2 separate regions of the Homo sapiens genome follow, and region 2 is linked to region 1. Evidence: promoter capture Hi-C in 16 types of primary human blood cells and fetal thymus (Javierre and others, 2016). All regions are on one chromosome and are shown on one strand. The core of a region is centred on a gene start or on the middle of the fragment in contact, and the rest is flanking DNA. Distances in the headings are between cores, read along the strand shown.

The links. Contacts are between HindIII fragments. The CHiCAGO score rates a contact against its expected background, and 5 or more counts as called.
Region 2: a contact is called between a fragment that was not itself captured here and the fragment with the promoter of CNNM4 in region 1, in 17 of 17 cell types (megakaryocytes, M0 macrophages, monocytes and 14 more). The highest score is 20.7, in megakaryocytes.

What each region holds. Positions count from the first base shown.
Region 1 is chr2:96,757,718-96,762,943 of GRCh38, forward strand. It overlaps CNNM4 (cyclin and CBS domain divalent metal cation transport mediator 4), which reads left to right and starts at 3,185. Exons shown (of 7, transcript NM_020184.4): 1 at 3,185-4,684. The coding sequence starts at 3,283. RefSeq lists enhancers at 2,623-2,672, 3,232-3,821, 3,693-3,942, 3,822-4,410 and silencers at 3,003-3,422, 3,546-3,729. The HindIII fragment of the contact is 3,226 bases long and covers 2,230-5,226 here.
Region 2 is chr2:96,600,619-96,605,844 of GRCh38, forward strand. It overlaps KANSL3 (KAT8 regulatory NSL complex subunit 3), which reads right to left. Exons shown (of 21, transcript NM_001115016.3): 15 at 4,702-4,893; 16 at 4,161-4,245; 17 at 3,632-3,762; 18 at 2,135-2,244; 19 at 1,498-1,720; 20 at 1,025-1,158. Among named protein-coding and RNA genes, the nearest start is that of KANSL3, 35 kb to the right of the region's middle. The HindIII fragment of the contact is 6,934 bases long and covers 1-5,226 here.

The sequences.
Region 1 (5,226 bases), core at 1,935-4,434:
CGGAAGGGCAGCTTCTCTGCCAGCAGCTTCTCTGCCAGCAGCTCCTCTGCCAGCAGCACCCCATCTTGGAGACCCAGAGGGTGAAGAGGGCTAAGAAGCTAGCCTGGGAGGATTAGATCCCAGGTTACTAATTCAGGATCCTTGTTCATCATCGGATCTCCAGCATCAGCATGATGCCAGGTACAAGTGAAGGGGCACTAAGCCTTTAAGACTGTTTCCCTGCACAGAACCAGAAGGGAGTGGGCTCAATTATGGGAGGTGTAGCCATGTTGCCATAGGGCTTACACCTGGAAAGAAGCAGTGAGCTCCAAGGATCTCATGACTAGGGTGCTGTTACATGCTCAGGGGTCCAGGATCAGGACTCCTCTGGGCAATTTCTACTTGCAAATAGAAGCAACTAGGTAAGTAAGGACTTGCCACCTTGAGGCAGAGAAAACAGGTTTGATCATGCCTTTATCTGCCCCCAAAGGAGAGAGGCTCCTCGCTTGCACGTTTGCTTTCTGCCATTCTCACCGCCTGGCTAACAGAGAGCCACACATGCATCCAAGCTTCCTGACTCAGCATGTTAATAGACTGCTATCTCCATGCTGTCCCTACGGTGGGAGAGGTATTTCGACATGGCAGATGCAGAAAAGGCAGACTCCCTAACCAGGGTTGCAAGCTGGCAGCAAATGAACCTGGACTTCGGCCTGGGCCCCGTGTGCCTTCTCCAACAAGTGATACTGTGTTTATCTTTTTATTTTTATTTATTTATTTATTTATTTATTTATTTATTTATTTATTTTTTGAGATGGAGTCTCGCTCTGTCACCCAGGCTGGAGTGAGTGGCGTGATCTCGGCTCACTGCAACCTCCGCCTCCCGGGTTCAAGTGATTCTCCTGCCTCAGCCTCCCGGGTAGCTGGGACTACAGGCGTGCATCACCTCACCTGGCTAACTGTGTATTTTTAGTAGAGACGGGGTTTCATCATCTTGGCCAGGCTGGTCTTGAACTCCTGACCTCAGGTGATCTGCCCGCCTTGGCCTCCCAAGGTCCTGGGACTACAGGTGTGCACCATCATGCCAAGCTAACTTTTTATTTTTTAAATTTTTAGTGGAAATGAGTTTTTGCTATGTTGCCCAAGCTGGTAATCCCACATTTAACCTAAATATCTAAAAAACTTATTTTTCCTTTTCTTTATTGGCTTCTGTCATTAGACTCAGTGCATATGAACAGAGCTTCTGAGTGTAGACAGCCTGAAAAGGGTAAAATAAAAGGAGCCAATTCGTACTTAAGCAGAAAAAAGACATAATAGAGAAAAAAATAAAATCATAAGAAAAAGGGAAAAAATAGCCAATTGATTGATAATAGAATGGGAAAGTTTCTAAGTATGGGAGGTGGGGGTAGGGGTGGAGCAGGGCGCTGGTGTTACAGCTCACTAGGAGATGAGGAGAGCTGGGTTTGCTTTGAGGCAATTCAGGTAGCTCTTCCTGGTTGGTGGAGACAGGGAAGGAACAGGCAGTCAAGGTTCTGCTTTTGTTCTGTCTCAGCCAGTGCCCATTCCAAGGCTCCTATTCCTCGAAAAAACTGACCTGCTGGGCACTCACTGCAAAGTATCCGCTATGAGTGGGGCCCCTACTAGCAACATACTTCTCCAGGCTGGCCTAGTTTACAGAACCCTCAATCCCAGCTAACAGGGCTTTCTTGAGTCAGGGCCTCTCTGCTACCACACCTCCTCCCACAACATTGTGTGATCCTTTCTGTTTAGGCTCCTTCCGTTTGGTACTGATTGCTGCTTTTATTAGCAAACATTACACCAAAATGAAAATAAATACAAGTGTCAGTGCGGGAAGGGAGTAAAGTGGGTTCTGTGTCTTCAGTACTGGCAAAAGATTTGCTGTGAGACCTGGTGGTCAACCCAGTACCTGATCTTCTCTGTGCACCTGTGCAATTATTGTAAGGATGTTTATCTGTCTGTCTTCTTCCCCCTCACAGGGCGGGCAGCTGTGGTCTTCCTTATACACCCTACTGACACAGGGCTAGGGCCATTCAGGAAGCAGTCATTTCAGGGATAGGCCCACTGCCGCGCCTGCCTGCTCATGTCCACAAGCAGCTGCCCAGCTGATCAATCACCACAATTTGGGGTTAGGAGTTTGGTCCTGGAAGGCAGGTAGCAACAACTACTACCTAGCCAAAGAATATTCTAAAGAGCTGTCCTGTCATGTTCAATGTCTAGGTCCACAATCCCGCAAGCTTAGCGAAGTAATGCTCTGTCATTCTTACCCCCATTTACAGATGGAGAAATGGGCTGGGAGATGACAGTATGGAGGCACCAGGATTTTTGTCTCGGCTCAATTTCTGCATCTCTAAATGGAAATAATTCTACTAACTCTGAGGGTTGTTGGGGGGATTTAATGAATATATGTGTTTACTTGTTTATCTCCTGTTTTCTGTTCTAGACTGTAAACCCCAATGGGCAGCGACTTTGGCTTGTTCACTGCTCTATTGTCAGAGCCTAGAACAAGTGCCTGGTACAAAGTAGGTGTTCAATAAATATCTATGCCTAAATGGAAGAGACAGGAGAGAAGTCTAGGCCAGAGCCTGCCCCTTCTATAACCTTAGTTCCCCAGATTTGCCTTCCACATCAGGCAGCCACTGGTTGATGGAAGCATCGTCGGGCTGGGGCTGGGGCTGGGGTAACCTACTTCTGGCCTTAGGACAAGGTCGGCAAAAATCTCAGCAGTGAGGAGGCCAGAAAAGTCTCCAAGGGGCAGGCTGCAATGCCAGCCTAAGCCCTCAGGTTTCCTTTTTCTTTTTCTACATCAGGAAAAGCACTTTTCTCGCCCTGCCTGCAGAGCGGGCCACCCCTAGCTGCAGGTGAGGGACGGGAGAGGAGCCTCCCACGTGCGGCCGTGCGAGGCCGAGGAACAGGAACGGCGTAGCTAGGAGACCAGGTCCCGGAGAAGGAGAGCTGGCCCCACTGGCAGAGAAAGGCGGGGAAGGGCGCGGAGGCGGAGCACTGGGCGGGTACCCGCTGGCGGCTCTCGCGCGGCGGCGCTGCTCCACCTTAAGCGACTGTACCCCCTTAAGGGCGGGCGCTCAAGCAGCGAGCCCCGGGGGCGGGGCCTCCAATGCAAATGAGGGGCGTGGGCAGGCGGGGCGGGGCGGGCGGGGCGCTGACCTGACGTCAGGCTCGCGGCCCGGGCAGTTGGCTCGGCGGCAGCGGAGCGGCCGGAGCTGCGGTGCGGACCGGGGCCGCGCGGCGTGGCGCGGGGAGCGGCGGCGGCGGCAGAGCCAGAGCAACATGGCGCCGGTGGGCGGGGGCGGGCGCCCGGTCGGCGGACCGGCCCGCGGGCGCCTCCTCCTGGCGGCGCCGGTGCTGCTGGTGCTGCTGTGGGCGCTGGGGGCCCGGGGCCAGGGCAGCCCCCAGCAGGGCACGATCGTGGGCATGAGGCTGGCGAGCTGCAACAAGTCGTGTGGGACGAACCCGGATGGCATCATCTTCGTGTCCGAGGGCAGCACCGTGAACCTGAGGCTGTACGGCTACAGCCTGGGCAACATCTCCAGCAACCTGATCTCCTTCACCGAGGTGGACGATGCCGAGACCCTCCACAAGTCCACCAGCTGCCTCGAGCTCACCAAGGACCTGGTCGTCCAGCAGCTGGTCAACGTGAGCCGCGGGAACACGTCCGGCGTGCTGGTGGTGCTCACCAAGTTCCTCCGGAGGAGCGAGAGCATGAAGCTGTATGCACTGTGCACCCGGGCCCAGCCCGACGGGCCCTGGCTGAAGTGGACGGACAAGGACTCACTGCTCTTCATGGTGGAGGAGCCTGGGAGGTTCCTGCCTCTCTGGCTGCACATTCTCCTAATTACGGTGCTGCTGGTGCTGTCGGGCATATTTTCTGGCCTCAACCTCGGGCTTATGGCCCTGGACCCCATGGAGCTGCGCATCGTGCAGAACTGTGGCACCGAGAAGGAGAGGCGCTATGCCCGCAAGATTGAGCCCATCCGGCGCAAGGGCAACTACCTTCTCTGCTCGTTGCTCCTAGGGAACGTGCTGGTCAACACCTCCCTCACAATCCTTCTAGACAACCTCATCGGGTCCGGCCTCATGGCGGTGGCCTCCTCCACCATTGGCATTGTCATCTTTGGGGAGATCCTACCTCAGGCCCTGTGCTCCCGACATGGGCTGGCTGTGGGTGCCAACACCATCCTTCTCACCAAATTCTTTATGCTACTCACCTTCCCCCTCAGTTTTCCCATTAGCAAGCTCCTGGACTTTTTTCTGGGCCAGGAGATTCGCACTGTTTACAACCGGGAGAAGCTGATGGAGATGTTGAAGGTGACGGAGCCCTATAATGACCTCGTGAAAGAGGAGCTCAATATGATCCAGGGTGCCCTGGAACTACGGACCAAAACTGTAGAGGATATCATGACCCAGCTCCAGGACTGCTTCATGATCCGCAGCGATGCCATCCTGGACTTCAACACCATGTCGGAGATAATGGAAAGCGGCTATACTCGCATCCCGGTGTTCGAAGACGAGCAGTCCAATATTGTAGATATTCTCTACGTCAAAGACTTGGCCTTTGTGGACCCCGATGACTGCACCCCCCTCAAGACTATCACTCGCTTCTATAACCACCCGGTGCACTTTGTCTTCCATGACACCAAGTTGGATGCCATGCTGGAGGAGTTCAAGAAGGGTAAGGCCAGATGTAGTTCCCCTGGTTCAATTTCCTCTTGACGCCTCTTTTCCCCTGGCGTGTTTTGTGTCTGCTGGCTTTAGTGTTCTGTTTGTGTGACTCTGTGTCCCTTTGCCTATCGCTTCCTATGCTTCTGAGGTGAACGATTTTGGAGCGGTAGACCCATTCTCAAGTGTCTGCCGTCTGCCAGGTAGTGTGCTGTGTGCTCCTGATGAATCAAAGCTGAATAAGACATACTCGCTCCCTTGGAGGGCTGGAGCAAGACCTCAGGGAGCTATTGAAGCAAGACAGAGTAAGACAGATGCCTGAAAAGAGGCCAGGGCGATGGAGATTTAGAGTATGGGGTGGAGTCAGGAAGGGGCTGGGAAATTGGGGAATCCACAGGGGAAGGAGCATTTGAGGAGAATCTTAAAAGGTAGAGAGGCTTGCTGCTTGAGGCAGAGGGAACCCCGCAAGCAGAGAACCGGAGTGGAGAAGCAAAAGTGTGCTTGTGGCCCAGCAGGTGGTCCTGTTTGGTGGGTATAGTGGCTCTGATGCTTAGT
Region 2 (5,226 bases), core at 987-3,486, 160 kb before region 1:
CTGTATAGCGGATACTGAAGGAAAGCACACTCAGTACTAGACTCAAACTGTTTTTTGGCTTAACTTCTAATCTTTGAGTGGCTCCTCAGATTACCATTTTAAGATTAGAAATATTTGACTTGAAAAGGTCACAGGGGAAATTAGATCAGCTAAGAGAAACTAATCATGACTTCCTGGGTGAGACCTATAAAAACCTAGCTGTGCCCTAAAAAGACAGCAATAAATGCTAAGATATGGGAAGGCACAGTGCTAGAAAGCCAATGTCAAAGAAAGAGTATTATACTTGGGGGCCGAGGCGGGAGGACCACTTAAACCTTGGAGTTCAAGGCCAGCTTGGGCAACATAGTGAGATATCTCTGTCTCCATGTCCTTAAAAACAAAGAAAGGGCCAGGAGCGGTGGCTCACACCTGTAATCCCAGCACTTTCAGAGGCCGAGACAAGTAGATCACTTGAGGTCAGGAGTACGAGGCCAGCCTGGTCAACACAGTGAAACCCTGTTGTAGCCGGGCATGGTGGCGGGCGCCTGTAATCCCAGTTACTTGGGAGGCTGAGGCAGGAGAATTGCTTGAACCGGGGAGGTGGAGGTTGCAGGGAGCCGAGATCACACCCCTGCACTCCAGCTTGGGCGATAGAGCAAGACTCCATCTCAAAAAATAAAAATAAAAACAAAGAAAGAGCATTAGCCAAGTAGCCTCTACTCATAACCTCTGAAGGATGAAACCAAGGATGAGAAAAAAATGAAACGAAAGGAAAAGTAAACAAAAACATTAAATACTAGACACTGCTACCCACTTGAACATATGTACTCTTCACAATATCAAGGGAGGGATGTAGAAGAGGAAGCTCAAAGATGTCCATGATTCGCTCAATATTATAAAGCCACAAACTCCAGAATACAGATTTGAATTTGAATCTGAATCTCGTCTGTCCAGTGCATGGGCAGCCCCTTCAATCAGCCAGTCAGCTGGTCTTAAACTTCCCAATAATGAAGCCCATGTCCTCAGTCCTTCCTGGCAGACTCACCTGTGAGCTGGAGGGCAGCACCTGGGAAGAGGACTCCTCGGATGGGGCTGCTCCTGAGCCCATAGGGCTCAGTGTAGTGATCCTGCTCGGCTGGCCACGAAGTGTCAGAGTAATGGTGGTGGGGACCTTCAAGCCTGAGATAAAGAGAGAGAAGCAGAATTTTTGAGTCACACTCTCCACCTTCTACTGAGGCTTTCCTTTCCTGGAGAGCTTCTCCCCCACATAACACAGTCCCTTGGCCTCCTCCCCAGCTGGGTCATCTATGCCCTATCAGTCAATCTGAAAGGCAACAGGAAACAGCCTGTGTTCTCTCAACCTCTCTGGGGGATGGGTCCACACAGCTGAATCCAAAGGTCAATGCCAGGACCCTGTGGGACTGGTTTCAACATCATACCTTGCCCACATGAGATGGGAAGGTCCTGGGGGAAAGATCCCAGATCTGGGAGTCCCCACAGTTCTCATGAGAGACTCACCTGATGCTTGGTTAGAGATCTGAGCCAGGCCAGGGAGGCTGCTTGCCAACTTAGCGAGGCCCCCATTGGTCAGCAGCTGGTGGATGGCTGTGGGCTTCCCACCAGGAGTGGCACCCAAGGAGGAGAGAGTGGTGGCCACAGGAATGGTACGGACAATGGTGCTGGTGCCCGTGGTGATGGCACCCAGGCTCTGCATGGGGGTGGGCAACTTCACACTGGTGGCCTGTGGGACACACAAGCCCAGGTGATCAGAAGCTGTCGCCCAACAGCAACATTCGAGCTTGGAGGGCCCACAGCATATTATTAAAGGCTAACATGTATTGAGTGCCTACTACATGCAAGGTACTCTTCCAGGCATTTTGCATATATTATTTCATTCTTATAACAACTCTATGAGGGAGGTACTATTATTACCTCATTTTATAGACAAAGAAACAAAAACAGAGTGGTCAAGAAACTTGCCCAAGGTCACACAGTAAATGATAGACCTTAACTTTTGTAAGTTCCCTGCTATGTAGCTAGAAGGCTGTTTGTCCTTGATCCACTGACTCCAGACCTAGTTTCCCTGCCAAAACCAACTAAGCTGAGGAGGCCTCCTCCCTACACCTGCCCAGCCCAGCAGATGGCAGATGTGCACCTGTGGGGCTGGTCCTGGGGAGGGATTTGCTGGAAGGCCAGAGGTCTTGCTGCTGATATCCTGCAAGCTGAAGCTGAGGCCTTGGAGGAGGCTGCTGGCTGATGTGGCCCCTAAGAGAGGACATAGCAGGAATCAGTAGAGACTCAATCACTTGCACTATCCCGAGAGCAGCCACATCCATCCACCCTCACCACCAACTAAAACACCAGTGGTGCTTGCCCTTGGACACCCGTCCTCAGAGAGAAGGCAGGAAGCTCTCCCCAACTAGGCACACACGCAATGGATGCCACACAGGAAAGGTACTGTGCCAGACACTGCCCCGGACTTGCTCTGCACCTGCTGCAAACCATCAGTCATACATTTTAGACCATTTTGAGAAATCCAAGTTTGTTCCTTTCTTTCCAGGGAAGAACTTTTTAAGCCAAAAGAATTATAAATATCCAACTTTCACTTCGCCTCACACAATCAAAGCAGTAAGGAAGTAGCCTCAAAGCAATAAGAAAGGTTCTCTTAAAGGAAAAGGGTTTATTTTATTTTATTTTTTTTTGAGACGGAGTTTCGCTCTCGTTGCCCAGGCTGGAGCGCAATGGCACAATCTCAGCTCACTGCAACCTCCACCTCCTGGGTTCAAGCGATTCTCCTGCCTCAGCCTACCAAGCAGCTGGGATTACAGGTGCCCACCACCACACCCGGCTAATTTTTTGTATTTTTAGTAGAAACGGGGTTTCACCATATTGGCCAGGCTGGTCTCAAACTCCTGACCTCAGGTGATCCACCCACCTCGGCCTCCCAAAGTGTTGGGATTACAGGTGTGAGTCACCATGCCTGGCCAGGAGAGGGTTTCTGCAATGCCTTGGCCCTGCTGGGCTCAGGCAACAGGCCTTTCAAAGTAGGGTTAGTGGGTAGGACAAAGAGAGAGACAAGCACAGACAGAAAAATGTCTCATTTTGCTAATGCCCAGTGTAGCACCATTTCCAGTTTTATTCAGGCAGATGTGCTTAAAACAGCAAAGTAAAACCACAGTCAGCTCTCAATTATCTGTGAGCTTCACAGCAGATTTGCAGATTCAAACAACCACGGATAGAAACCTGTGGATATAGAATTCCAACGGTATGACATAATTTCATATAAGGGACTTGAGCATCCATGGATTTTGGTAGTGGTGAGGGTCCTAGAACCAATCTCCTGTGGATAAGAAAGGCTGACTATACATATATGTCCTATCGGCTATTTCTCCTTACAGTAGAGGATACAGCACCTGTAGACTGGAACATTTACTCACTTGCAGACCAGGACATTTACTCACTGCATTTATTCAAGGCCAAGGAATCCCTCTGCCCAAGCTAATTCCAGCTTCACGTCAAGCCTCTATGATCACTCTAAGACCCAGAGGCCCATCCTATGGATTTAGCTCCAGGGATGCTTTCCCAGGACCACCCAGAAGCAGCAGACCAAAAATTCTGTGTTGGAAGGGGAGAATGCTGGGCCACAAGATACCTGGGAGGGAGCTGCCAGGAGATGTGGCCACCAGGCGGCTCTGCAGTGTGTGCAAGGCACTGGGTGCAGTGCTGCTGGAGACCACTGAAGGGACTGGGCTGGCTGAGACTCCACCTTCAGAAGAACTGGACCTGGAGACAAAGGAAGGAGCTCTGTTATCCAAAGGTCACAGGACAGCAAGCCCTAGCAACACTGGCAGGGTACAGAGTGGGGCCCAGCAAGGCTTTCAGCAGCAGACATACACCAAAAACCTTCAGCTTCTTTGTCCCACTTTCTGTACCTGGCCTCTAGTCTTCTAAAAGTCCTTACTTACAGGACTTATAGCAAAAGCCAGGGGACGATTTGGAGTCTTAAGTAAAAGTGAACTCTGGGTTGACTCAAAAGCAAGACAAAGATCCCAATCAGAAGTAAGTCACATTTCCAAAACTGACAAGAATCCAGAATCCATCATTTTCCAAAGCACTAAATAAACCAGAAACAGAGGGAAGGGAAAAAAGGAATAGACACAGATGGTCCAATAAACACTCACTTGGCTGTGGTGAGAAGTCCTGTGAGCTCCTTGGCCCCTGCTGAAGCCTGCCCCAGTGTCATGGTGATGGGCTTCCCACCTGCAGCTTCAAAACAGAAAACCCCAAGGCCCCTGGTCAGTCCTATTTGGCCTCTATGTTTCCAGGTTCCACAGCTTAGGCTAAATGCAAGATATTACGGACGAAAACTGGAAAATGAAAAAAGATGAACTATGCTAGAGTAGGGAGAGTTGGGGTTATTTTTTCCTTCTATTTTCTAAACTTCCTGAAATATTCTGTACCTTTAATTGAAGCCAACAAAAAAAGAACAAAATATAGGATGCTTTGAACGATGGCACAGCTTCCTCTCATATTCTGCCTGCCTGGTCCTCATTCAGATGGACTCATGCCAACTTTACCCACATGTACAGACTCATGTCTTCTTTGCTCCGGGCATCTCTCAAAATAAAGCAAAGGCTGACATGCTGGTGAATGGCCACCAAAGGGCAATGCTGTGTACCTGAGAGAGCTCAGTTCTCATTTAACGTACCAAGAGAAACTCACCTTCTGGAGCACTTCCTTGGGAAGGAGCACAAGGCCCTCCAGCTGTGTCCCCTTGGGAGATAAGGGACACCTTGATCTTCGGTCGTTTGGAGGTCTTACTGCCAGGAAGGGGACTCGAGGGATGGTGTCGCTTCAGCTGAACCCTAAGATCCTCTTTCTCTCCTTCCTCTGGTGGTTCTGATGAAATGGGAACTAAGACATGGAGCTGAGTTGAGATCCTCCACAATCCAAAAAATCCCAACAGACACTCAGTCAATACCAGCACCAACACAGCCATGTGTAGAATGTAGAACACACAGGATAACCACTCTACGTACAGGGCCACCCCTCAAAGGAGACTGCCCATGCTTCAGGACCACTTCACTCAGGCCCTGTCCGTGGGGGACCCCACTTTGCCCTTCTTAGAGGATGGCACCCTTCTCATCCCTCATCCTGCACTGGAATCGGAAGAGAAGGGGCCCTGAGTTGGTAGGAATTAAAAGACAGAAGACATCCTGACCCTGCCTAGCCAAGGCCAATGGCAAC